Linked DNA regions of Homo sapiens: all the other regions are linked to region 6. Evidence: promoter capture Hi-C in 16 types of primary human blood cells and fetal thymus (Javierre and others, 2016). All regions are on one chromosome and are shown on one strand. Each heading gives the region's core, a stretch centred on a gene start or on the middle of the fragment in contact. The rest is flanking DNA. Distances are from core to core; before and after follow the strand shown. Region 1 overlaps ADAMDEC1 (ADAM like decysin 1). Region 2 has its middle 70 kb from the start of ADAM28. Region 3 has its middle 51 kb from the start of ADAM28. Region 4 has its middle 24 kb from the start of ADAM28. Region 5 overlaps BIN3 (bridging integrator 3). Region 6 holds the start of SLC25A37 (solute carrier family 25 member 37).

Region 1 (3,633 bases), core at 796-3,295, 870 kb after region 6:
GGTAGGTATGGAAATCTGGTCTGATGGGGATAAGATAAAGGTGGTGCCCAGCGCAAGCACCACGTTTGACAACTTCCTGAGATGGCACAGTTCTAACCTGGGGAAAAAGATCCACGACCATGCTCAGCTTCTCAGGTGAGCACATGCTGGCCAGGTGAATGTAGGCAGAATGGATAGCTATCCCCAGGGTTCCTTAGCAGGGATTTCCACTCTGTAATATTTCCCTGATCAACTGTCAGAGTGCTTGACATTTTACCACTAGCAATTCACCTGTGACATTATTGGATCAATAATCAGATGATAGAATGAGCTCTTGGATATAAGATAACCATCTGTGGTCATAACACTAAGGAATAGTAGAAGTTTTTTGGGGCCTAGTGAATATAAAAAGGCTAGGGCAGCGAGGCAATTCGTTAATGTAATTAACAAAAGCTAATGGTTACAAAGACTCAGATTGTGACAGTAGTATCTGTAACTTTTCATACAGCGGGATTAGCTTCAACAATCGACGTGTGGGACTGGCAGCTTCAAATTCCTTGTGTTCCCCATCTTCGGTTGCTGTTATTGAGGTTTGTAAATTTGTAGTAAGGCTCTCTGTGGTTCTGTATCCTCTATGAAGGCCAGCATAACACCTTATATAGAATGAGCAAAATGAACATTTGCTGAATCAATGAATCAAGGAAGAAATGAAACTACTGGTAGGTCATTGCACTGAAGATCCCTTGGGTTATGCGACAGAACATTTCCTTACATCAGCCTTGCTAGAACGTGCCATATCATTCTTTAGTTCATGTTAGAAAATCAGAGTAGGAATATTGGAGCAGAAAGGGCATCCAGTACCCTCTGTGGCCTGGGCTAATACTAGTCATCCCCAGTATCTATGGCCAGAGAGGCCAGACAAGGAAGAAGGGTGCATGCAGGTGTCATATGGCCAAGAACTCCAGTGTCATAGGTATCATAGCAATAGGTTTTGGAGACCTCCGATATGGTGCCTATGAGTACTTCCTATGAAGAATGTAATTAATTCAACCATGATTTACTGGTAACTTAGTATCCATTAGTTCAACAAATATTTATTGAATAAAATGTAAGTATTCATAGGACCCAACCACTTTAAATGCTCTTTCAACGTTTTGCAATACACAGTGACAGGGAAAGGAGCTAACAATTCACTAGTTTTCATCTCTTAAGCCATTTTTAAAGTACTGCACATTGGCAACAATTAAATAAAAAAAGAATAAATAAATATATCTACTTTTTCCAGGCTAAAAAAAAGAATAATGTGGCTCTTGTAGGAGTGATGTCACATGAGCTGGGCCATGTCCTTGGTATGCCTGATGTTCCATTCAACACCAAGTGTCCCTCTGGCAGTTGTGTGATGAATCAGTATCTGAGGTGAGACCTTGTCATCCTAAAAGGAGAGAGATATTTTCCAAATCTTTTTTTTTTCTGAAGACACATATTATTCTCTATTGTTTAATTAAATATTAGATCTTGTGTTGTTCCAAAACAGATTTTAAAATTGTTTATAAAATACATACTAATCAACAGGATAGATTGAAAGTGTTACCCAAAAAACAATCTTAAAACGTGTAGGGTAACATATTACATTCTTAACCTAGTCTTGGATTACAGTAATCTGCTGATATATGTTTCATAAAGACATCAAAAGTGCTATTTTACAAGTAAATTATGTTTAGGGACACTTGCAATGAATGTTTCTTTTCATATATATATATATATATATTATACTTTAAGTTCTAGGGTACATGTGCACAACCTGCAGGTTTGTTACATATGTATACATGTGCCATGTTGGTGTGCTGCACCCATTAACTAGTCATTTAGCATTAGGTATATCTCCTAATGCTATCCCTCCCCCTCCCCCCACCCACAACAGGCCCCAGTGTGTGATGTTCCCCTTCCTGTGTCCAAGTGTTCTCATTGTTCAATTCCCACCTATGAGTAAGAAAATGCGGTGTTTGGTTTTTTGTCCTCACGATAGTTTGCTCAGATTGATGGTTTCCAGCTTCATCCATGTCCCTACAAAGGACATGAACTCATCATTTTTTTATGGCTGCATAGTATTCCATGGTGTATATATGCCACATTTTCTTAATCCAGTCTATCATTGTTGGACATTTGGGTTGGTTCCAAGTCTTTGCTATTATGAGTAGTTTTCCAAATCTTTAAGAATTCGGAAGCAGTCTACAGATGTTGAATGGACATATCTTTTCCCAAGGGTTGTGTATCCCATTAATTCAACTTCCAGTCTCTTGATGCACAAATTTTAAAAACTACCAGGGCTCATTCTTTAAGATTTCCAAATATGCCAAGATAGAGCTTGCACGTATGATGACCTTATAATTTTAACTTAAAATAATTCCAACTGAAAATGAACCCATAGTTTCTAAAAATATTAATCTCATTATGTTGATGACAGGATCTTCTTATATTCCCATCATCAATCAACCAATCAATCTGTTTTTGCATATTTATGAATTACCTGTGAATGCCAGGCACTTTGCAAAGACTTTGGGATAGAAAAATAAATAAAACATACTTTGTTCTTGAAATGCTCACAAAGAAGGAGAGAAATATTTCCATAAAGCCCAGAAGCCTGCAACTACTTCCCTTCACTGGTTCATTATTATTATCTCTTGCCCCTCAATTCTCAATGCAAAATGAGTGGATAATTACAAATGGTGATGGCTGTCACTGCTGTCCTTTAGAACAACATTAAATGGCCACATGGAAATTGAAATCCTTCCAGCTCTGTGACTTAGGCTCTAGGAAGAAAAATGTCCAAATACCATAGTATGCATGCTCTACCACCCACCACATTTAATACAGGGCAGTCCTAAATGGTTGCCAAATTTGGAATTTCCATTGAGCTCGGTAATACAGTTAGATAAATCAGAGTCTCGTGTTTCTTTATCTTTATTCTGTGTTTCACGCAGAAGGCACCACACTGTATATCATATTATTTGAGTTTTCTTCTGATTACAGTTCAAAATTCCCAAAGGATTTCAGTACATCTTGCCGTGCACATTTTGAAAGATACCTTTTATCTCAGAAACCAAAGTGCCTGCTGCAAGCACCTATTCCTACAAATATAATGACAACACCAGTGTGTGGGAACCACCTTCTAGAAGTGGGAGAAGACTGTGATTGTGGCTCTCCTAAGGTATTATTTATTAGAATTATTGGGGCAGAAGAATTATGCAGTTTTCTTTTTGTTTTCCAATATTCTTTTGGAAATTCTTTCTAAAGACAAACTTGGCATCGTAGTTAAAAAGGAGATTTGTGCTTGTGTTTTTGCTACTGAATTTAGTAATCCTTTGAAAGGCATTTCAAAAACTAGGACTTGATTTTGACATAATTATATGAAGTTAAATGTAAAAAAGTAAATTGTTAACTATAACATGTCACTTGCAATCTTTCCAAAACGTGTATTAGTCAGAAATCCCTAGACGACATAATGTCACAGTTGATCATCTGTTGAACAGTAACAATTAGAGATCTAGAAGTAAGTTCTACTCAGAGGGAGAGTTGGTCTTTTCTCATCAAGCCAGTGTATAAACCAGGTTGTAAACAGAGAAGAAAGAGGAAAAGAAAAAATAATCACAAAAA
Region 2 (3,391 bases), core at 183-2,682, 700 kb after region 6:
TTGTTCTTGGTCTAGGACATGGCTCTACCAATTCCTTTATTTCACCTGAACCTTTAATCTTTTTGTTTTATGTGCCTCCTCCTCTTCCCACTAGTGAGGGAGGGATTTCCATCTTAGGGTTGTGGGGAGGACCAAACTCATGACACTCAGCACTGTGCCTATGAGATCAACAACAGTGTATTAGTCACAAACACTCACAGCCTAGGGGAAGAGGACATCACATGCCACGCATGGGGCCACGTAGGGATTACATTGAGGGATATCATAAACAACCAGAGGCTGTGGGACGTTAGCGGGGCTTTGCAGCATCAAAGCGGGAGGTATCTTCTGGTTCCTGTAGGAGCAATGTGATGGGCTTGTTTGATATTTCTGTGGACTGGCAAAAAACTGAAGCCTGCTACTTAGGGATAAGTATTAAGTGTCCCTGGTCCCCGTGATAAGGAGGGTTGTTTGACTAGGGAATCTTGTCCAGAAAACAAATGTGAACATGTGGCTTTTTAATTCTAGGCAGATATGATCATAATCTTAAAATATACTATTTGTATCTTTAAAAACTTGTTCTTTTCCAATTTGATGAATACTTTTCTATTCTTTGAAGCAAAACTGCAATTGCTTTTGCACCAACCTAATACATCAACAGTATGTGATTCATGAATGTAATGTCTTTACCCCAAGGCCCCATGTTAGATACTGAATTTGTGATGATACACTATTGTTTTATTTTCTTGCTGAATATTCTTATGGCTAGATATTTGCACATACAGATAATTGTTTTCCTTTAGATACATTCTAGGAAACAAATTTTGTCAAAGAGTTTACAAAAAGCATTAACTACCTGCTTTCAATTGTCATACAGTTTGCTCTGATTCTGCTCTTAAAAATATTCTAGGGTTCATATTTCTGTGTATTTTTGATAACATCAAGCTTTATTCTATTTTAATTAACTCCAATGGAATAAGTTAAAGTTGTCACTCTCGTTTAAATCCTTGTTTTCCCACCCATTTACTGGCTATATATATTTCTTCTTTGATAAACTAAGTATTACTATTTTCCATTTTCCTATGTAAAGTTCATATAATTTTAAGATGAGCATATAATTTTTTTTCTATAAATAATTTTTAAAATGTCCCTGTAACATATTTAGTGATAAAATATTGGGGGATGTGGGTATTTTTAATTAAAATTATCTAGTTTTTAGTAAGAGGCCTTTCACATCTAAATATTCAGGTTTTCTTTATCTTAGGCCAGTTTTCTCCTTCCTTTATTATGCCTTCTCAGCTCACTTTTTTGAAATTTCACTTACAATGACATTTGACATCTCTGTTCTGTTACCTATAATTCTGATTGTTTCTTAACACTTTTGTATTTATTGTCTTACTCTGATTTTTCTAGGTGACTTCTTAAGATTGTCTTCTACTTTAATAATTTAAACAGTTCAGTTCCTCCACTGCACTTTTTCTGTTTAGTAATCATATCCTTATTTTCTATAGTGACTTTTTCCCCTCCTCTTCTAAATTCATAGCTGCCATACTCTCTCAGATTTCTTTGAAAGTTCAAGATTTTCTGAAGTCCTCGGGTTCTGATTCTTTCAGTAGCTTTCACAAGATATACTTACTGACTTCTCCTTTATTTATATGGATGTTTCTGTTCACTGCTCTGGTACTAACAGGTTATATTTTTCTATTTTATGTTTTTATTTCAGGACCTTTGATACAAAATCTTTTTCTATTTCAGAGAGTCAAAATGGGTGTTTTTAGAAATATATCTTTCAAGTCTCTATTTGAGTTAACAAAACTCTGCAGGACATGAAAAAAATTAGTTTTATTAAGGTTTAACTATGCCAGATCATATATCCAGGACTTTTGGTGAAAATAACGGGCAGTATTCCGCACAGTCAAGTTTGCTTCTGCACTACAAAGTTTCTTTTACATAGTTGTTATGGAAGCTTGAGTATAACTCAGCCGGTGACACCCTCTCCAAATTACTTTGTTAGTAGCCAATTGGAATATCAACCATATTTCACTTAGAGTATTCTTCACTTAGCAACACAAATGAGTGACTTCAAAAGAAGACTCTCTAGTTCTCCAAGAAGCTAGTAGATGGAGATTAGGCCTTTACCAATCGCCCCAAGAGACATCTGCACTTCTAGTGTTTTATTTTTTAAGCTAGAAGATGGTATTGTAGTTCTGCTAGGTAATAAGTGCTATTTTCTCCAAATACAGACTTTTGAATTGTGATGAACAGCAGTTCACTCAGTAATTTCATCAATCATTTCTCACCTGCGGGTATATTGCATATAGCCTTCTTCAACACTTTCCAAACATGAAACTATTCCCTGTATAGTGTCAATACACATTTTTCCCATTATTTCTTAGGATTCTTTTTCCAAATAACTTTTTTTTTTTTTTTTTTTTGTGAGATGGAGTCTCACTCTGTCACCAGGCTGTAGTGCAGTGGCACGATCTCGGCTCACTACAACCTCTGCCTCCCAGGTTCAAGTGATTATCCTGCCTCAGCCTCCTGAGTAGCTGGGACTACAGGTGCACACCATCATGCCCAGCTAATTTTTGTATTTTTAGTAGAGACAGGGTGTCACCATGTTGGCTAGGGTGGTCTTGATCTCTTGACCTCGTGATCCACCCACCTTGGCCTCCCAAATCAAATAACATTTTTTATAGATGTAACAGGTAGGTTCTCTTCTTTTTACATTAAATGAGTAGTTCACACCCTTTCCCCTAATTTCTTATCAATGACTCATTGTTTAAGTCTTTCAGTCTACTTCCTTGTTATTTTAATTACTTCCTATCTAATAACAGGTTATTACTTCTTTTCACTCTCTGTGTCAGTCAGAACAGGCTAGTTAATGCTGTATTAACAAACAGTCCCACAATCTATGGCTTTAAAGAACTAAGATGTATTTCTTATTCATGCAACATGTCCTTTGTGGGTTGGGAGAAGAATCGAGTTCACATTACACGGCACCCTGTGCTTAGTCCCAAGGTAATGAAGCAGCTGTTATCTAAACGTTCTGTCACCTAGCAGTGGAAACAAAAGGAGACATGGGGAAGTTGTCACTGGCTATCAAAGCTTTCAATGGAAAATAACACAAGTCATTTCCAATCACATTTCATCAGCCAAAACAAGTCAGGGAAACAGTCTTTAATGTACCACAAAGGGGAGAGAGGGCTGGAATATTTATGGACAGTTCTAATAACTACCACATTTCCTATCATTTCTAACCTTTAACACTATTGCCAACCCAAACTTCTAAAAATGTCCTCTTTGTTTTCCACAACACAAAATACCAATGGCCTCTTTCCCTAGCTCTCTGATTGTTTATCATAGTTTTCTCCAACTTTTCTTTTTGCAATGACCTAAGTGTAGTTGATCC
Region 3 (3,487 bases), core at 968-3,467, 710 kb after region 6:
AAAGTGGCCCTTCCTGTACCAGTGGTCAGTGTAACCCCTTAGAACTAGTAATAACCAACCCCCTTCATCCTCGCTGGAAAAAAAGGGAGCATGTAACCCTAGGAATTGATGGGACTGGACTGGATCCTCAAGTAAATATTGTGGTTGGAGGAGAAGTTTATAAATGCTCTCCTGAGCCAGTATTTCAAACCTTCTATGATGAACTGAATGTGCCAGTACCAGAAATTCCACGAAAAACAAGAAATTAGTTTTTGCAATTAGCCAAGCATGTAGCCCAGTCTCTCAACGTCACTTCATGTTATGTATGTGGAGGAACTGTGATAGAAGATCAATGGCCATGGGAAGCCCGAGAATTAGTACCTACAGACCCAGTTCCTGATGAATTCCTGGCTCAAAAGAATCACCCTGATAACTTCTGGGTCCTAAAATCCTCAATCATTAGACAATACTATATAGCAAGAGTGGGGAAGGACTTCACCCTTCCTGTGGGAAGACTCAGCTGCCTTGGGCAAAAACTGTATAATAGTACTACAAAAACAGCCACCTAGTGGAGTTCAAACCACACTAAGAAAAATCTATTTAGTAAATTTCCAAAGTTGCAAACCGTTTGGAACCACCCGGAGTCCCACCGAGACTGGACAGCCCCCACTGGATTACACTGGATATGTGGGCATAGAGCTTACACCAAATTACCCAACCAGTGGGCAGGTAATTGTGTTATTGGCATTATTAAACCATCTTTCTTCCTACTGCCCATAAAGACAGGCGAACTCCTGGGCTTCCCTGTCTATGCTTCCCATGAAAAAAAAAAAAAAAAAAAAAAAAAAGCATAGCTATAAGAAATTCGAAAAATAATGAATGGCCCCCCTGAGAGAATCATACAATGTTATGGGCCTGCTACTTGGGCACAAGATGGCTCATGGGGATACCGGACCCCCATTTACATGCTCAACCAAATCATACGGTTACAATCTGTCTTGGAAATAATCACTAATAAGACCGGCAGAGCCTTGACTATTCTGGCCTGGCAAGAAACTCAGATGAAAAATGCTATCTATCAAAATAGATTGGCTCTCGACTACTTGTGAGCAGCTGAAAGAGGGCTCTGTAGGAAATTTAACCTTACTAATTGCTGTCTACACATAGATGATCTAGGGCAAGTAGTTGAAGACATAGTTAGAAATATGACAAAACTGGCACACGTGCCCATGCAAGTGTGGCATGGATTTAATCCTGGGGCCTTGTTTGGAAAATGGTTCCCAGCGCTAAGAAGATGTAAAACTCTTACAATAGGAGTTATAATAGTAATAAAACCCTGCTTACTGCTCCCTTGTTTGCTACGTGTATTTCTTCAAATGATAAAAAGCTTGTAAGCCCTTAAAAGGGACAGGAATTGCTCACTCAGGGAGCTCGGTTTTTGGAGACGTCAGTCTGCCGATGCTCCCAGCTGAATAAAGCCCTTCCTTCTACAACTCGGTGTCTGAGGGGTTTTGTCTGCGGCTTGTCCTGCTACACTAGTATAATATACCATGTTAGTCAGATTGCTAATATTATTGTGTTTGCCTGGAAAAAGTAAAATATCTTGCTTTACCCTGTGAGTTGCTATGTTAATGGGTACACAATATAAAATAATGTAAAGCAAGACACCAATAGCATAAAATGTGTATGCAAGAGGAGAGGGGAGTAAAACTGTAGAATTTTTTATGTTATTAAAATTAAGTTGTTATTAGCTCAAAATAGACCTTTGTAACTATAGAATGTTTTATATAAGCCTCACGGTAACTGCAAAGAAAATAACTCTAGTAGATACACAGAAAATAAAGAATAAAGGATCAAAGCTTACCGTCACAAAAAATTAACAAATCACAAAGACAGCAAGGTTGGAAGAAAGAAAAAATGAAAATTGAGTATAGTATGTATCTTTAAGTATTTTCCATTTCATTCATATTTTCCTATTTATGTGCATACAGTGCAAAGTTGTATTCTACATATCTTTTTCTCAATTTTTGTGGTTATTTTCCGTCTTTTCAACCTTTATTTGTGCAGCTTGCCTTTTTTCTTGATAAGATTTAGATGATTATTTTGTTACAGAATTATTTTTCATTTTTATTAATTTTCTTTTCTCTTTTCTGGTATATTTCTGCCTTTAACAGTTTCTCCTTTCATTTTCCTTCAGTTGATTTTGTTTTTTCATACTTTTGGATTTGTAAGTTTAATTCATTTATTTATTTTTAGTAAGGCTATAAATTTTTCTCTGAGCTGTACTTTAACTGTAGTCCATATACAAGGGTGACTAGATCACTATTTGGGGATACTGTGAAATTTTTGCTTTATTTCATCACCAACTCACAGACTATTTAAGACAGAGTCATTTTTATTTCCAAAAGATAGGAAGTCTTTGTTTTCTGGTGTTCTTGGTAGTTTCTAGCTTATTGATAGAATCTTTTTGAAGATGTTTTGCTATACCTGTTAGAAGCAGCTGAAACAGTTTGTGGGAAACTCATTGAGAATATTACTGATTGCCAGTAATATTTTGGCATTAATTTCAGGGTCTGACTCATTCTCACTCAGACTTTGTCATAAAAATAAAATGTGTGAAGCTTAGGACTTTTAAAAAAAATGTGAAATCAAATAGGGATTACTAAATTTAGTAATACAGGTTTTCCTTCTGGAGTGGTTCTAAAATTAATTCCAAAATAATTCCAAGACATGATCTAGGGCAGTGGTGGAATATCTTTAGAATAATTTAAAAGGGAGATAACCTCCTATGGTGGATACTTCGAAGTAAAAAACATTCACATGGATTTGCAAATGCTGCATTGTTTGAAAACATTCTCATTTTGTCAATGCAGTCTTATTCAAAATATACTAAATTTGAAGTCAGCTACTTGAGTTAATATCCTGCCTATATAACTCATCAGTTGTGTTACATTGAGCAAGTTCCAGAACTTCAGTGACTCGATATTGTCATAGGTAAACATACAGTAACAAAGACTTTCTTAAATGCATGATTTGAGGATTATAAATATTATTTATTTAAAGCACAAAGCTCAGTGCTGGCCATAATGAAGACATCCTGCAAATGGTAGTTATTCCTATACATACTGATATGGTTTGGCTGTATCCCCACCAAAATCTCATCTTGAAATCCCATGTGTTGTGGGAGTGACCTGGTGGGAGGTAATTGAATCTTGGGGGGCGGGACTTTCCTGTGCTGTTCTCCTGCTAGTGAATAAGTCTTATGAGATCTGATGGTTTTAAAAATGAGAGTTTCCCTACAAAAGCTCTCTCTTTGCCTGTCGCCATCCGTGTAAGATGTGACTTGCTCCTTCTTGCCTTCTGCCATGATTGTGAGGCTTCATCAGCCATGTGGAATTGTGAGTACTCCCTTAAACCACTTTCTTTTGTAAATTGCCAAGTCTCAGTTATGTCTTGATCAGCAGCATGAAAATGGACTAATACATGTATTGATATCAAAACCACCAAA
Region 4 (3,734 bases), core at 585-3,084, 740 kb after region 6:
ATTCCTGGGTCTAGAAAGGGTCATGTTTCCTTCTCACATCTGCTAAATATGGAGAGGAGCAGAGACTGTTTTTTGGATCCCATATTATTTAAGATGGACTCAAGTGCTGCATGGGACTGACTAAACCTTTGGGTGGGACAGCAGTAAGACTGCCATGAGGAGCTGGGTGTAGTCAGAGGCAGGGATGTTGCTGAAGACTTACAAGAACAATCAAAGTGATGTTTCAGAAAGATCCATCTGAATGGGGAGTACAGAATGCTCTGGAGGAGAGAATTTGCAGACTGGAAAATTGCAGAAGTCCAGGCATGGCAATGTAAATGGAAGTCGGGATGAGCATGGTATAGAAACTACAGGTGAATAGAACGGCTTGCCAGTATTAGGTGGGTGCAAAAGTAATGCGGTTTTGCCATGAAAAGTACTAGATTGAGAGCTTAGGAGAGCCACTACATAATTTACTGTGACACACAATTCTATCAACAGGCCAGAACAACAGGAGAAAACCAGGACCGTCCCAGGGAAACTCAGATGTGTGGTCACTGTGGATACAGGGTTCAAAGCACAGGAAGAGTCCAGGTAGATTTTGGGTTTGGTCAGCTCCTGGGAAACTTAAGTCCAGCCTACTTGGAAGTAGAACTGAGCTCTCATACATTCTGTATGATATGACACAGGATCACAGGGTGTGATAAATCAACTAGGTATCCCTGTCTTTTTGTTTAGCCCTTTTTTTTGCTTTAGTTAATAAGTTAATAAGACTCAAATGTGAAGTATTAGTACTGTAGTACTCCAGACTCTGGACTCTTACTAAAAGTAGTTTCAGAGTTTCCCAAACTATCTTCTGAGAAATACTGCCTAAAATGATGTGATGATTCAAAAACATATTCTCAAATTTTTGACATTCTTCCCGTTAAGAGGAGTAGTCTAATTCAGCGGTCCCCAGCCCCGGGCCATGGACCATTACTGGCCGGTGGCTTGTTAGAAATCAGGCTGCACAGCAGGAAGTGAGCTGTGGGTGAGTGAGCATTACCACCTGAGCTGCACCTGCTGTTTGAGAATCTAATGCAGCCACTGATCTTAGTGTGGCAGGCCAATTCTCCCTGATAATCACACAGACAGGCCTGCATAGCACCCAGTTACACAAATTTCCACAGTGCTGCCTTAACATTGAGCAAATAGTTAAACCTAGGGAAATCGGTGCCCAGACATCAAAGCCAGAAATGAAACATACGGCCAGTAGTAGCCTTGCATGGGCTTCTCCCTTGCTGGAGCAAGTCAAAATAATAGAAACAGTTTTACATTCCTAATGCCAGGACCAATCTTAGGTCGACAAAATCTGAGACAAGTCAAGGTAACAGAGACAGCTGTTTGAATAGATTCATCGGAGAGTCTAAGGCAGCCCTCAGGACCAAGCTGTAAAGGAGATATGATGGAAATAATCACTCCAGTACCACAGCAGACAGGCCTTGAAGGCACTGGGGCCCTTTTAATCGAACTTAGTATTTTTTTGCTTCTGACCTTCTAGTTAAAACAAAATTAGTTAACAATAGACTTAGGCAAATGCTATACTGTACGTAGGCACATAATCCCAGCCTACATAAGCACTCGCAAAATTGTGATGCTTTGAGTTGGTCTGGTGGAATTATCTCCAGCCTTCTCCCTGTATCTAGTTACAGTAATTAACTTCCTTCTTTCCTTGTCTGCTTCTCATTATTGGGCCTCGAGAAAACACAGCTGGGTCTGGCATGGTTTGGGGAACAACAGGAGTGTGAACCCTATTGTGAACTGTGCACGCGAGGAATCTAGGTTGTAGACTCCTTATGAGAATCTAATGCCTGAGGTGGAACAGTTTTATCCCAGAACTGTGCCCCCCACCTCCATGCCCCTGTTCCGCAGTGAAAAAATTGTCTTCCATGAAACTGGTCTCTGGTACCAAAAAGGTTGGGGACCATTGGTCTAATTCCTCCTCCCTTGAATGTGAACTTGACTTAGTGTTTTGTTTCTAATGAATAGTATGTGGTGAGAATGACACTGCAGGGCTTTTGTTTTGTTTTGAGACGGAGTCTCTCTCTGTTGCCCAGGCTGGAGTTCAGTGGTGCTGTCTCAGCTCACTGCAACCTCTGCCTCCTGGGTTCAAGTGATTCACGATTCTCCTGCCTCAGCCTTCCGAGTAGCTGGGACTACAGGCGCATGTCACTACGCCCAGTTAATTTTTGTATTTTTAGTAGAGACTGGAATTCACCATGTTGGCTAGGAATGTCTCGATCTCTTGACTTCGTGATCCGCCTGCCTTGGCATCCTCCCATAGTGCTGGGATTACAGGCGTGAGCCACTGTGCCTGGCTGACACTGCATGGCTTTTGAGGGTAGAACATAAAAGACGACACAATTTCCACCTGGTCTGTCTTGGGACACTTGCCCTTAGGACTCAGATGCCAGGGTCTAAAGAGAACCCAGGCCACATGGAGCACCTTTGTGAGGGTGGCCCAGATGGCGCCTGGCTTGGCTTGGGTCCCAGGCAGCAGCCGCAGTTACCACCAGACATATGAGAAAATGTGAGCCTTTAGATGTTTCCAGACCCAACTGCCGACTAATGACAATTGCACCAGAGGCTCTAGGCAAGAAAGTCCTGGCTAAACCCAGGCACATTCTGGAACTGTGAGGGATACAATACTCATAAATGTTTGTTTGATGAGTATATTAAAGTGTGTGTGGTAGTTTGACTGGCTGCCATAAAGAATTAGAACAGATAGTAAACATTTTTCTACCAGAAATAGTTCTATGATCAAATATCTTCTGAAAATTCTATGTATTATTTTGGTTTGTCACCAGGAAAGGTAACTCAACTGAAAAAATCATGACATCTATACATTTGGAAAGAAGACTTTATTTCTTGTAAAGAGTTACAGCCTGCAAGGTGACCCTTCTGATAGGCCAGGAAGCGTAGCCTCCAGCAGAGCCCTAAAGGCAGGCACTCTGAAGCAGGGGTTGGAACAGGGATTTGTGCTGAATAGGTTGGCTAAGTATTCAGATTCAACAGGCTATAGGAGGAGCTATTAATATCCATGAAGGGGATCCTGATGCATGTGTACTGAATAAACGTGCATGTTACCTACCACCCATGTTCACATTCCACCCTGGTGGAACAGGGGCTTATGAGTCAGGGTCTGATGGTTGGTGAGCTGCATATGTTTTGATATTGCTTATCTCAAGGCTAGTGCTCCATTAGCTGCTAGAGAAAAAGAAAAGCCTTGTAGCAGTTACAACATAGTTTATTCTTTAAGTGTAGGAGTGCAGGACTTAACCCTTGCCTACATGACCTTAGGTCTCATTTATAATTTAGTATCTTATTGCCACAAAGAGTCCATTCTGTCAGTCTTATAATCTCTATTTTAACATTAATGCTGGTCAGTTGTTATGTCTAAGGCAAAAGGCAGGAGATACAACAGAGTGTGTCTGACCTTCCATTCCATCGTGACTTAGGTTTTAAGGTTTCTCTGAGGTCCTCTTGGCCAACAGGGAATCTGTTCAGTCAGCTGTGGGGCTTAGCATTTTATGTTTAGCTTTCAAAACACCTTAAAGTTTCTGAGAATTTGTCATTGCTTAGATGGTACTTTCAATGACACCACCCTCCCCCACCCCTTGCCTTTTTTGGTAGCAATAAAACTCTTAATGTCTCAAAAATCACAATGTTTCACACAGCACAGTGAAAATACTTAGAAACACTCTCGGTTTCAACGT
Region 5 (3,546 bases), core at 820-3,319, 860 kb before region 6:
GAGTGAATTCTAGTAAGTTACCAAGGGGGATCATAAGACTGCACTGCTTGCGCAGACATAAGCATGAAGTCAGACAAAGGACGGGAAAGCCATCTGAAAAGTTAGAAGCACTCTACACATGTGAGACAGCAACGGTAATCATAGGGGAAAGGACTTCACTGAGAAAAAAACTGAATAATGGTTTTGTTTGACCCAGAAGTTTACCTTCTTTATATTCCATTCATTTAACAATTACCTGTTAGATACCCACTATGTGCATGATACCCACTATGCGTACAAAAAGATGAAGAAGCTCTATGTCGCTCCTGTTCTCATGGGGTTGGTGTGGAAGGGAGGTGTACGTCTGTGATACTCAGAAGGATGCAGAAGTGCTACAGGAGAAGCACTATGGAAGTACAGAAGAAACCCAGCAAAGCACTTTGGAGTGGAGGATCAGAAGGAGTGGGGAGGAGAAATCACAGGCAGCCTGACCTGGAAGCCACTTGTGTCGGTCAATTTAACAATAGTACTTTCAGAGGCTCTTCATTTTAGGAAGTGGTTTGTAGGTTCTGCAAGTTTTTATCTTAACATTTTTCCTGAGCTGAGGCAAGTCAGGAAAAGGGAAAAAAGGCCCCATTCATATATTTAATAAACACTTCCTGACTGCCAGGAACAGTGCTAGGGAATAGCAATGACCACAAGACAGTCCCCATACTCAAGAACTCACAGACAAGTAAACCAGCCAGCGGAGTACAGATGCTGATGAAGGTCAGAAGAGCGGCACCCAGTGCAGCATGGCAGGGTGTGAGGGGCCACTCAGGGAAGACCCTCAGAGAAGGTGAAGCGTGGCCTGACTCTTGAAGGATGAGTAGATGCTGGCCTAGTGGACAGGGTGTGAGTGAAGGGGAAACATTTCAGGCAGAAGGGACAGTTATCCAGAGGCACATGGGCACGAGAGAGCAGGAGAAGCTTGGAGGATGGAACACACGGAGTGAAGATGGACAGCCAGGCCCAGAGGGCCTCAGAAGCCCTGGCCCAGAGTTGGGCCTCTATCCTGAAGATGATGGCAAGGGACTACAGGGTGAAAACAGGAAAGAAACAAAAAGGATCAAACATGAGGAACACCAAAGTGTGAAGGGCAGACAGAGGTAGAAGACCCCGGAAGAGTCAGAAAAATATCACTCCACTCATTTCACAGCAGGCTCAGGTGGCAAATTGTCAGCAGGAATGGCCACTCCATGCTACAGATGGAGAAACTAAGACAGAGAACAGCTCAATGCTTGACCAGGCCGCACTGTGAGTGGCTGAGCCAGAACCTGAACGCAGCACTCTAACTCCTACTCACACTTACCTGCTCTGCCTCTAATTTCCTTCCTTTTTGTCAAACTACTGGACCCCTAGGTATAGGGAGATTTCTTCCAGTACTCCCTTTTCCTCCTCGTTTAAGCCTAAAATCATCAAGGTGTATGGTTCAACAGGAGGCTACAATTCCTGGAGCCAGCTTAGATTGAGGTCACTATTCTTAATTCTACTTAATCCTCTCTCCATACCATAATAAAGCCACCTGAGTATACACTGGAAGATGGGGAAGAGAGACAGGAAGGGGAAAAGGGAGACAAGAGGGAGACAGAAATAGGGAGGGAGGGGGTGAGTGGGGAGGAGAGGAGAGAAAGTTGGGAGGGGGGCAAATGGCGGGGGGAGGTGGGGTGGACAATGGGAGAGAAAAAGAGAGCGAGAGAGAGAGAAGCATTTGGCTTGAGGCCAAGAAGTGAATCTGTGATCTGAGATGTGAATATCAAATGCCTTCTTCCTAGTAGGACAGACCACCGGGTCACTTTTCTGAAAGGCAGATGGGTGTATGGGGAGTGGATGGGTAGATGGTGCAGGAAGGCAGCAGGTACCCACTAAACAAACAGGGGGTGGGCGGGTTGCCTGCACAGAGGAAGCAGAGAACAAAGGCCTCTCACTCTTCATGCAAAGTCCACAGTGTGCAAAGGGCATCAATATTGGACATTTCTCACTGTGACATTTTGAAAGCTCAGCCTAGCCCAGAACAATGGTTACCCTCTGGGGACCATGGGCCATGTGCCTTATTTAATGATGGCTTGGCACAGCCCATGTACTTGGTGAACTTGACCTTGGGCATCAGCCTCCCATGATGGCTCTACGTCACTCTGGTCTCTTCCCCTAATGAGAATTCCAGTCTCACATGAATGGATGGATTCATTCTGGGGGCAGGAAAACCACTCAGGGAGTGAATCAGAAGGACCCAGCCCCGGTCTCCTTGCCAGCCATTGAGCTAGGAACTGAGTGTGATTGTGTGCCCAGGCGCCGGTGCTGTTCCCGTCTTTGAGAGACAGGGTCAGGGTCCACGCAAGAGATGACGTAGAAGCCCTTTAAGGGGGAAGAGAAAGGAATCTCAGCTTTGAGGGACAAAGCCACCCTTCTGGCTGTGACTCTCAGTCCAAGGAGATACCAAGATGTGCATGTACTGGTAAATTAAAGCTACTAGATGAAAATCTCAGCTCTTGTTAGACAGTTGTCAATCTCAATTCTCTCCAACCTGACAGGATAACCTTTAAGGAATGGGCTACTATTTTTTCAGAAGGGAAACTTTCTGTGAGACAGGTGGAAACAACCTGCTTCGGATCACCCAGAGAATCATTTACCTTTATTAGTTTCTGCTGTGCTCTTCTCCCAACTTGTGAAGGAAAGATTGGTTCAGTAAAGGCCAATCTAGGCAATATAAAGCATCTGTACTGCCTCATTTTCACTTTGAAAAATTAGGTAAGAACACTCCAAAGATTCAAGACGCAGCAGCCAAAAGGATATCTATATTGCAAGACTGGGGGGCCCAGAATGACACTGAAAGGACGTAATTCCTCTGGGAAAGGGAACTGAAGAATTGCCGCTTTGCCCACCACTAACTAGGTTATAACAAGACAGGGAAGGTAGCTTTTTAAGGCTCCAGCCCCTTATTGGCCTCCTGGAGCAAATGGTGGAGGGAAAAGCAGAAGCTCCTGCCGGGGCTTATTAGGACATTGCTTCAGGCTTTCCTCCCGTGCTTGCGGTGATTGTCTGACATTTGTCCATCAATCTTGGTCTAAGAAACAGGTGGGGGAGGGGACAGATGGTTCGCATTTTACTTTAGAGAAGTATCCCTGACACTGACTGATATCAGCTGCTTGCGTTCTCCACTGATGGCCAAAATTAAGCTTCAAAAGCCTTCCTGAAGGACATTCTGTTATCTTAATTCATTCATAACTGGTTATCATGCGCTTTGCATAAACAAACACACTAGCCTCTGAGGACAGAGTGGCAAATATGTTCCCTATGTCCATGGGCTGATTAATCTTGTACATCTCTGGGGCTCAATTTATTCACACACTATAGTTGAATCCCCTGAGGTCCAGGGTTGTGGCTATATAGGTCCTTGGGCCTGACGGTAAGGTAAGGTGCTGCATATGAGTATTCTCTAACCTCTAAGAAAGCCCCAGGAAGGCAGGCAAGTCACAATTCTCTCCTGTGAACATAAATAATCGAGAGCAACAAATGGGGATTGCCTTT
Region 6 (3,744 bases), core at 111-2,610:
TAAAGGGCATCCACTTAAAAATAAGGATCAACAGCTTCTGATCAGTATTTCTTAAAAACGACCTTTGACAAAAGTAGAGTTTTCTCTAGCCATTACAGAGATGGCTAAGTAAAAACACAGAGCCTGTTTTTACTTATCACATCCTTAGCACTCAGCTTGCCAGCTACTATCTGCAGCTACCAAAACTAGGCAAACAGTGCTCTTGGTCCTGACGCCTCTATTGACCTCTACCCATGCTCACATTACTGTATCTCAAATCCCTAAGAGCTGCTTGGGATGCTGATCACGGTGAGGGCAGAGAGTAGGCTCAGCCTCTTCAGGGTCTTCCCCACCCTTTCATATCTCAGGATCCAGCTTTCCTGACGAGAAGCCTTGTCTAGATAAGGCAGGGAGGCCCTGGTGCCTACAAGTTGATCAGCCCAAGTCATCTTAAGCCCTGGAACACGCAATTTAGACGGACACTTCCAGAGGCAGACAGGTCCCTCCCCTACTTTCTGATTTCTCCCTTTTTCCCCAGACTGGAGCAAAACAATATTAAAACAGCCTGGGTTACACTTTATTGAAGAGGCCAGCTTAGGACGACTTTAAGAACTAGGTGACCACAGTCTTAAGACAGGCAGGGGCAAGGCTGTAAGATTTTACTCTCAGCCAGTTCACACTCCTAACTGTGAGATCAGGCCTCTACAGACCTTATGGGCCTATCAAACCCAAAGAAAATTTCCTGGAGGTGCCTACTCAGAGGGGCTCCCTCCTGGTCACTCCTTATAGCCTTGCTCGGTCCAGGGCAGGGTGGGTTCGGTCTCTCGGTGAGAACAAGAGGAACACATTTAGCTCTGCATTATGTATTTAGGTTGAGAGAAACAATTTCGAATGAATGGGGGTCTCTCCAACAAAGCAGTCTAGAACGGGCCCCTGAGGTTTGAATTCAGGCCTTAGGAATGCCAAAGCTCACTGAGCGATTCTGTTTGCAAACCCACCCGCCACGGGGACGGATTTTCCCCGAGACACTGTCACCCATGCCTCCAGCTCTGGGCATACCCCACTGCGGCCCCTCCCCAATGACCTCCCCTGCCCCTCGCGGACCAGCCCATCCTCAAGATAGTACAACTTTCCGGGCCACCCCACGTCTCCTCTCGCCCCCGTCCGGTTGCTTGGAAATGTGCACGGGACGGTGACGTCACACAGGGAGGCGGGTCCCCACTGTCCCGCACACCAATGGCGCGGCGGCCGCCGGCCTCTTGGTTCCCGGCGATTGGTGTCTCTGGCCGCTGCGCTCCACCCCAGCCCGCCATGGCGTCAGGCGCCGCGGCCCCGGGGAGGTGGCTCCCACTTTAAGAAGTGAAGTTTTGCGCCCCTCCCCCTCCCTGCCCACCTCCTGCAGCCTCCTGCGCCCCGCCGAGCTGGCGGATGGAGCTGCGCAGCGGGAGCGTGGGCAGCCAGGCGGTGGCGCGGAGGATGGATGGGGACAGCCGAGATGGCGGCGGCGGCAAGGACGCCACCGGGTCGGAGGACTACGAGAACCTGCCGACTAGCGCCTCCGTGTCCACCCACATGACAGCAGGAGCGATGGCCGGGATCCTGGAGCACTCGGTCATGTACCCGGTGGACTCGGTGAAGGTGAGGCGCGGGGAGACTTCGGGGACGCAACGAGCGGAGAAGGAGCGCGCGCGCGCATTTGCATCCCGCGCGCCGGCAGCCTCGGGGCAGCGTCCCGAAACCGAGCTCTCCCCAGGACCGCGGCTGGCCGGGGTCGCCCCAGGAGCAGCTGCGCGCAGCCTGGGCGCCGCGCCTTCCGCCGACCCCGCGAGGGTGCCCGGTCCTCGCCCCGCACCGCCCGCTGCTCCAGCCGCGTGCCCGGCCCCGGCTGCTGGCGGCGCTGAGGCGGGGGAGGCGGAGTGGCGAGCACCGCTGGCTTCGGCGGCGACTGGGCTCCCGGGGGACGCGATCGCTGAAGCTCTGCACAGTCTTACCACGCTGGCCGTTCGGGCTGGCTGGGGCCGCCCACACGTGCGCGGTTTCCGAGGGAGCTCCCCGCAGGGGAAGCCCTCACCACGCTGGAGCTGAGAAACGTGTGGCCCTGGCCCGGCCGCGCGCCCTCGGGACTTGGTGTGTGGCTGCTGCTCCCCGGGTTATTTCGGGAACTTGGGGCCGGCAAGTCTTCTCTCGACTAGTGGCAGCTCTTTACCGGTTCGACAGCGGCCCGTGGGATCCCCTTTCTGAGGGTTCCTGCACTTCTTCCCCCGACTTTGGGTCGCCGAGCCGCCGGGAGGCAATGACGTTTGCCTTCTCCTTTTGCTTGCGGGGAGGTGGGTGGGCTTGTGCCTTACAGCCCTTGCTGTGGATTGTGTGAGAGGCACTCAGTTTCCTTTAAACCCTGTCTGTCACTTGCCCCGGTAGTTTTAACTGCATTTCTGTAAAGAGGCAGCGTTACTAGGTGCGTTTTGCCTGGTAGACTGAGACCTGCCCTCTGTCAGCCTGCCCAGAACACCCCAGGGCCAGGATAGAGTAGTGCAGGAAGTAATGCCAGTATTGACTGTTACACGTTGCACTTTTATAGGCATAACTCGCCTAATTCATGCAACAGCCCTGGGGGTTAACAGATGAAGAAACTGAGGCGCAGAGAGGCGAACCGATTACCTTGCCCAGGCTCCTACACCACCTCCTATCCTCTGGCTGCAGCTGCAGTGTGCTTTGGAGGATTCGGAGGCCTCTCTAGGTGGCAATTATTTTGCAAGGCAGGTCCCACAGAGGCACCCCCAGCAGCTTTATCTTGTTGCTGATGCTGGTCCTGCATGAGCAGGTATGAAGGCCAGAAAGTATAACTCAGAGGGTTTTCCCGGCTCCGGGGAGCTCGCTTGGAGCCAGCAGTCAGTGTCTGGACAGGCAGAAGTCCAGTGAGGAAAGACATGGGCTTCCAAGGTGCTGCTGGACCTAAGCCTGAGCCATCACCCATATGTCCCTCCAGTGTCCCAGTGGGGAGTTAGAGGAATGGTTCTCATCTCCAGGAAAGACACTGGACTGATACCAGGTGGCATTTGTATGGGAAAGAATCCCTCAAATGTAATAAAATTCTCCATGATTGAAGCTGTTGTCTCAACTGCCCTGGGCAGAGTCTGGGGAAAGTTAGGAGCAGGGAGGTGTTATCTGAGCAGGCCCTAGTCCTACTGGTGTCTTGAGATGAATGTTCTATTCGGGAACCCCACAGTGAGTTCACTTTAGAGCATCATTTTAGCTTATTTTTAGGATTAGAAATAATTAGTTGTGCCTTCTGAGCACCCTTTGACACTCTCAAGAGGCGTTTCTCACACGTTTAAATTGTGTGATCTGTGTTTAGTTTCTCCCTGCCCCATACATGTTGATATGTTTTGGTTCAGATGTCACCTGTATACTTAGTATTACTTTCCATAGCAGTTTTCACCTGTGGACAGGTTAACATGGTGTGAATGGTAGAAGGAGCCGGTCTGGTTTTCCTAGACAAGTCTGTAAAACAAGGCGTGGGTTAGCTAATCAGTGAAGTCTTCTAGGTTCTGGGATTATAACTGACCCTTAGGGGCCCTTCCATGCTGAAGTGTGCAGGGTTGGTTTTGAGGCTGCCACTGAGTGCCAAGGTCTGCCAACATCAGCACAGTTGTCTGCCAAGCATGAGGAGTCAGGGGTGCATCCTCCATCATGGAAAGGCTTGGGGGAGACCACACCTGTGTTCCTCTTAAGTATTTTGGATGATGGCGAAGACCGGGAGTAACT

What was found. The method cuts DNA at HindIII sites, captures the fragments that hold promoters and counts their contacts. A CHiCAGO score of 5 or more calls a contact.
Region 1: a fragment that was not itself captured here is called in contact with the fragment with the promoter of SLC25A37 in region 6 in 4 of 17 cell types (M2 macrophages, total B cells, M0 macrophages and 1 more); the score reaches 8.1 in M2 macrophages.
Region 2: a contact is called between a fragment that was not itself captured here and the fragment with the promoter of SLC25A37 in region 6, in 1 of 17 cell types (total B cells). The highest score is 5.3, in total B cells.
Region 3: a contact is called between a fragment that was not itself captured here and the fragment with the promoter of SLC25A37 in region 6, in 1 of 17 cell types (total B cells). The highest score is 5.7, in total B cells.
Region 4: a fragment that was not itself captured here is called in contact with the fragment with the promoter of SLC25A37 in region 6 in 4 of 17 cell types (M2 macrophages, M0 macrophages, total B cells and 1 more); the score reaches 6.7 in M2 macrophages.
Region 5: a fragment that was not itself captured here is called in contact with the fragment with the promoter of SLC25A37 in region 6 in 1 of 17 cell types (neutrophils); the score reaches 7.1 in neutrophils.

The regions. Positions count from the first base shown.
Region 1 is chr8:24,398,906-24,402,538 of GRCh38, forward strand. It overlaps ADAMDEC1 (ADAM like decysin 1), which reads left to right. Exons shown (of 14, transcript NM_014479.3): 9 at 1-135; 10 at 488-569; 11 at 1,265-1,395; 12 at 3,010-3,187. All of the region lies in intron 1 of ADAM7-AS1 (ADAM7, ADAMDEC1 and ADAM28 antisense RNA 1), which reads right to left. Among named protein-coding and RNA genes, the nearest start is that of ADAMDEC1, 16 kb to the left of the region's middle. The HindIII fragment of the contact is 4,870 bases long and covers 1-3,633 here.
Region 2 is chr8:24,222,690-24,226,080 of GRCh38, forward strand. No RefSeq gene overlaps it. Among named protein-coding and RNA genes, the nearest start is that of ADAM28, 70 kb to the right of the region's middle. The HindIII fragment of the contact is 1,021 bases long and covers 923-1,943 here.
Region 3 is chr8:24,241,380-24,244,866 of GRCh38, forward strand. No RefSeq gene overlaps it. Among named protein-coding and RNA genes, the nearest start is that of ADAM28, 51 kb to the right of the region's middle. The HindIII fragment of the contact is 762 bases long and covers 1,837-2,598 here.
Region 4 is chr8:24,267,881-24,271,614 of GRCh38, forward strand. No RefSeq gene overlaps it. Among named protein-coding and RNA genes, the nearest start is that of ADAM28, 24 kb to the right of the region's middle. The HindIII fragment of the contact is 4,732 bases long and covers 1-3,734 here.
Region 5 is chr8:22,664,724-22,668,269 of GRCh38, forward strand. All of the region lies in intron 1 of BIN3 (bridging integrator 3), which reads right to left. Among named protein-coding and RNA genes, the nearest start is that of BIN3, 2.6 kb to the right of the region's middle. The HindIII fragment of the contact is 2,246 bases long and covers 947-3,192 here.
Region 6 is chr8:23,527,596-23,531,339 of GRCh38, forward strand. SLC25A37 (solute carrier family 25 member 37) reads left to right here and starts at 1,361. Exons shown (of 4, transcript NM_016612.4): 1 at 1,361-1,617. The coding sequence starts at 1,408. RefSeq lists enhancers at 1,055-1,104, 2,395-2,464 and silencers at 1,235-1,594, 1,645-1,894. The HindIII fragment of the contact is 6,335 bases long and covers 1-3,744 here.